Linked DNA regions of Homo sapiens: region 1 is linked to region 2. The links are contacts of gene promoters, found by promoter capture Hi-C in blood cells and fetal thymus (Javierre and others, 2016). All regions are on one chromosome and are shown on one strand. Each heading gives the region's core, a stretch centred on a gene start or on the middle of the fragment in contact. The rest is flanking DNA. Distances are from core to core; before and after follow the strand shown. Region 1 has its middle 2.7 kb from the start of WDR7. Region 2 holds the start of PMAIP1 (phorbol-12-myristate-13-acetate-induced protein 1).

Evidence for each region. The method cuts DNA at HindIII sites, captures the fragments that hold promoters and counts their contacts. A CHiCAGO score of 5 or more calls a contact.
Region 1: a contact is called between a fragment that was not itself captured here and the fragment with the promoter of PMAIP1 in region 2, in 1 of 17 cell types (total CD4 T cells). The highest score is 5.8, in total CD4 T cells.

The regions. Positions count from the first base shown.
Region 1 is chr18:56,647,320-56,650,019 of GRCh38, reverse strand. No RefSeq gene overlaps it. Among named protein-coding and RNA genes, the nearest start is that of WDR7, 2.7 kb to the left of the region's middle. The HindIII fragment of the contact is 3,586 bases long and covers 1-2,700 here.
Region 2 is chr18:59,898,607-59,901,306 of GRCh38, reverse strand. PMAIP1 (phorbol-12-myristate-13-acetate-induced protein 1) reads right to left here and starts at 1,311. Exons shown (of 2, transcript NM_021127.3): 1 at 1,072-1,311. The coding sequence starts at 1,129. RefSeq lists silencers at 945-1,154, 1,305-1,714 and an enhancer at 1,471-2,222. The HindIII fragment of the contact is 10,069 bases long and covers 223-2,700 here.

The sequences.
Region 1 (2,700 bases), core at 77-2,576, 3.3 Mb after region 2:
AAGCTAGCAAGGAGAATCTCTCTACTGAGCACAAGAAAGGAGTCACACAGATATAGATACAGCCATGGATATGGACATGGACATAGATATGGAAATGGATGTAGATGATAACCTAAATTAGGGAGTGACAGCCATCACCTTTGCCATATATTATTGGTTAAAGTAAGTCACGGGTTTTATCTGTACTCAAGGAGAAAGGATTATACAAGAGTGTGACTTATCGGGGTCACTTAAGATGGGCCAGCCACAAATATTAATTTGGCAGCAATGTGCCATGTAAATCAGGTGGGAAATACAGGGAAGCAAGGAGACAAGTGAGATGTCGTCATTGTTGTTGTAACCAAAAATGTATGGTTATCACTGCAAAAGAATCATAAATGAGACCCACAGGATAAAATCGGGAATTTCACCATTTTAGAGGCATATATATATATATTTTTTGAGATGGAGTCTTGCCCTGTCACCCAGGCTGGAGTACAATGGCACCATCTCAGCTCACTGCAACATCCACCTCCTGGGTTCACGCAATCCTCCTTCCTCGGCCTCCCGAGTAGCTGGGATTGCAGGTGCACACCATCACACCTGGCTAATTTTTTTTATTTTTAGTAGAGATGGGGTTTCACTCTATTGGCCAGACTGGTCCCGAACTCCTGGCCTCAAGATTGGCCTGTCTCGGCCTCCCAAAGTGTTGGGATTACAGGCGTGAGCCACCACACCCAGCTTTAGTGGCATTTTTAAAACTTAAGTACTACTCTGTCCTTAAAATTTAGTAGCAGGCTGGGCACAGTGGCTCACGCCTGTAATCCCAGCACTTTAGGAGGCCGAGGCAGGCAGATCGCAAGGTTGGGGGTTTGAGAATTTAGTAGCAAATTACCCTACAGCACACCAGTACCTTCTGGACTTCTTAAGCTCCAGGTTAGCTCTGCAAAAGGCAAGGAGGCTTGTTCTTCCATTTTACAAATTTCAAAAGAGGGAGATAGCCCAGTGGCCTAACAGTGACTTTATTGCTACTGTTATTTTCGGATCACTTCATGCATGCTGTTATTTTTTTCTCATCGAGGTTTTCAGTCGTAGTTTGGTATTCCCCATGGTGCCTAGTACTCAGCTAATACTCCCCTTTCCTTCCTGGACCCTCTCCCAGAAAAGTCCTATCATGGTCGATGGCTTTATTTTAATACCAAATGGCAAAGAGGCTTAATAAGGGTTTTTTGCATGATTTTTGTGTAATTAAAACTGTTTTGTGCAATTAAGAGATTCCTTTTGCACTTTCTCACATGACATAAAAGTCAAGTGTTGATACTTCTCTTTTTTTCCTGTCTCATGACTTCCATGATTCAAACCATTTCTTTCCAAGTAACAAAATGTCTTTTTCTAGAAACATCTCTAGTTACTCCATACTCAGGCCTTTTAGGAAGGAGTGAAGGTGATAAGGTTTAGGGTGTTAAGCCTCCTCACAAATGAGGGTTTCACAGCCCCCCTCACCAAACCAGCAAGACTAGCAAGGGAAAATTAGAATAGATAATGAAGGAGGAGCTGATAAGTCCTAGTGGTAGCCCTGGTCACCAACTGCAGCAACAGGGCTGTAGATCGTCTACTAACCTCCCTCTTCTAGGTTTCCCATAAGGAAGAGAGGGTGACCAGAAACCTGGAGGAGTTGCTCCCCAAACCTGTGTAGAGAAGGGAACTCATTTTTGTGTAAATAGTGGACTATGGGAGACACATGAAGCACCACCCAGATTCCCCTTCAAGAAAGAACCACTTCCTAGCTGCAAGGAGAGTGGTTTGCTCACACTCTTGCTGTTAGCTTCTTCAGGGTCACCTGGGCTTTCCAGCTGAGATCACACTAATCTTGAGGCAGCCTCTGATGAATGACTGAGCAGGGTGAGGAAAGTCCAGGGCACATTCTTCTTGGGGAGGCCCCTGTTCTAGGGGGTGGTATCAAGGCATAGGAATTTCTGCTCCCATGGGGGACTCCTTTAACAGGCAATCTTTGTACTAGAGCTTCCTCTTGGGTTAGTAGAGACTTTGTCAGATCTGCTTTTTCCCTTCCTCGGCCCAATCCTGCTTCCTCCCTTTTCCTCTCACAGATGTGAGAGAAATAAACCTTTTGGACTCCTCACTCCATCTCAGCATCAGCTTCCCAGAGAACCCAGCCTGCACCATGACACCATTTTTAACAATTGACAATCAGGAGCTGTCATTGTACTTTTGCAACTTTTCCCTCAGTTTTTTTTTTTTCCGTATAAAAAGTTGGAAAAAAAGAAACAAAGATTAAACTGATTTTTACTGATTTTTAATAAAAGAGAGACATCAGACTTATCAACCCATGCAATGCATGTGTCTTATTTTGATATTGATTCAAGTAAGCTATAAAATAAATTAGGAGAAAAATGGGAAATTTTAACCGAGTGGATATTTAATGATATTAAAGAAGCCTTGTTAACATATTAGAATGTAATAATGATATTTCGGTTATGTCTTTAGAGGATTCCTCATCTTCCAGATGTGCAGGCTGAAATATTTATGGATGAAATTGTCAGATGCCTAGCATTTGCTCCATGATAATCTGAGGTAAGGAAGACAGTGGCAATAGCTACCTTAACTTTACTTCCATCTTCATGAAATAGTACATTCTTTTACTTCTAATTCTAATTCATCAAGGTGAAAAACATCACTTATTCACCATCCAGTGGTTTTAGG
Region 2 (2,700 bases), core at 62-2,561:
AACAAGGCAGAAAATACTTCCCGGTCATTTCCTTAATTTTTTAAAAATTGCATTACACACCTATAAATGTATTAGTATCAATCAAATCAAGTTTAAGAGGGACTTTGTGCTGCTTCCTGTTCTTGGGAATTAAGTCGGACCAGAAAGTGCTATGCATAAGTAAGATCCTTCAGAAAGAAACAAGGTCAGAATCCTAAGACATCACAAAAGGTAGACAAAGCTTTTTCCATCCCACACAAGCGCCAGAGACAGCAGCCTGTTACCAACTTAGGCATGGTCACATTTGCAATGCACCACTTCCTTCGCACGCCCCAGGAGCTCTATAAAATGAAAGTAACTTAAAAGGTGGGGGGGGCGTATAATCGTCTGATGCAACAGCAGTATGGCCCACACAGACTTCGGGCTCTGGGCAGTGACTGGGTTCTCTGTTTAGATTTAGAAAAAGCATGGGGCCGGGGCGCTGGCCTGAAAACTTACGATGGAGCTGTATGTATCGGGGTGGGGAGTGCGAATGAATGAATGAAAAAAAGGAGCGGACTAACTCCTATTCTCCTATCCCCACCTCCCACAATATCGATTATTTAAATGTTACAAGATTTTCTAGGCTCCTGAACACAGGGGCCCTTGTGGGGCCGTCTCTGGAAGCGCTGGGAGTCCAGGCGGTCCCCGGGGCTCTCTCCTGCCCCTTCTGCCGCGACAATGACTTTCTCCTAGAGACAGCCGCCTACACTTGCACTTGTTCCTCGTGGCCCCGGGGAAGGGCAAGTGGCGAGGAGGAAAGAGAGGAGGAAAGGAGCTTTTTGCCCCTGGTGAAACGCAGCTGCATCCCAATCGCAAATCCGGCTTGGTCCCTCGCCGTACCCGCCGTACCCGCCGGTCCTGGGGAAAAACCCCGAAGAACTTTCTGGAGGCGCCCCTAAGGCTCGCGCCAGGGCACAGACCTGGCCCGACCTTGACCCCCGTGCAGTCTGTGCTTGAGCCCCGGCGAGCTGAGCCCGCCCCAGCCGAGACCTCGACCCCGGCCCCGACCCCGCCCGGCCTGGGTCTTCGCTGGCCCCAGCGGGTCGGTACCTGCTGGAGCCCGCGCGGGGCTCGGTTGAGCGTTCTTGCGCGCCTTCTTCCCAGGCATCTCCGCCGGTGCCGCCGCCCACTCAGCTACAGAGCCCGGGAACCTCAGCCTCCAACTGGAGCACCTCGGACAGCTGCAGGACGCGAGCTGAACACGAACAGTCCTGCAGGCAGGGATGCTGGGATCGGGTGTCCGGACGCGCGGAGATGCCAACTACACACGGTGAGTGCCCGGGAAACTCTGAGATCCCCGCGCCAGAGACCACGCTTTTGTCCAGTGAGAACTTCCCTGGTGACGTAGGGAAACTAGACGCCCGGCCCGCCCCTGTCCCCGCCCCTGTCCCCGCCCCGCAGACGGCGTTATGGGAGCGGACGCGGGACGCGGGCGGGGAAGTACCCCGCTGAGCGCGACCTGCCCGGACACGCTCCCGACCCGCGGCGGCGCCGACCCGCGGCGGGGGGCGCAGAGCGCTCGGCCCCGAAATTACTTCCTTACAAAACGAGGTGGGAGGAGAAGGGGGTCGGCTTTGACCATCTGCAAACGCTGGACGTCGTCAGCGGCAGTGGTGGCGGGAGCTGGGAGTGGCGGGAGCTGGGAGTGGCGGGAGGGGAAGGGTTTAACCAGGAGGAACGTTGTGGGTGGGGAGAGACCAGAGGCCTTGGCAATTAGAGACTTGGGTAAACAAGCCCAGAAAAGAGATTGGAAAAGGAAACTTTTCGAACTTGAAGAGTATGGGCAGTAACAGGGAAGGGAAATGAGAAGAACCTTAATCACCGCAGAGGAGATGCCAGAGGCCCTGTGAGAAAGCTCCGGGTCCCAGGAAGTCACTGCAAACAGAAGCCCTGGTGCCAGCCAGAAAGAACATCGTGTTTGAGTTGGGAAGGGATTTGTGTGTGTCCTTCCAGATAGGTCGATATCGCCCATTGTGGATGTTTAGCAAAAACGAGTGGATCGTTATCATATGGAAAACGTTCAAATCTTTTGTGGGAGGGCTGAGCTACCTGGGAACGTGAAATTATTTGCATAATGTTTGGCGAGGCCATGAGTAATTCTACTATTATGAAGAGGAGTAATTAGGAGTGGTTAACGGTTACTGAGAGCCGCTTCATGCTAAGGACTTTGACATGCATTTTCTCATTCCGTCCTCAGAACAACCGTTGCTACTTTACGGGTGCAGAAACTGAGGTTTGTAGAAAATTGCCCAAGTTCACTTAGGCAGAGAGCACTGCCCTGATTCCGAACCAGGCAGGCCCACAGAGAGCAAGAGCTCTTACCCACTGTAGCCTTCCCAGCAATCAGTTTCTTAGAAAATGTGTGTTTTCGCCGAACGCGGTGGCTCACGCCTGTAATCCCAGCTCTTTGGGAGGCCGAGGCGGGTGGTTCGTTTGAGGCCAGGAGTTCGAGACCAGCCTTGCCAATATGGTGAAACCCCGTCTCTACTGAAATACAAAAGATTAGCCGGCCTTGGTGGTGCACGCCTGTCGTCCCAGTTGCTTGGGCGGCTGAGGCACGAGAATCGCTTGAACCTGGGAGGCGGAGGTTGCAGTGAGCCGAGATCGCGCCACTGCATTCCAGCCTGGGTGACGGAATAAGACTCTGTCTCAAAAAAGAAAAAGAAAAAAAAAGCGTGT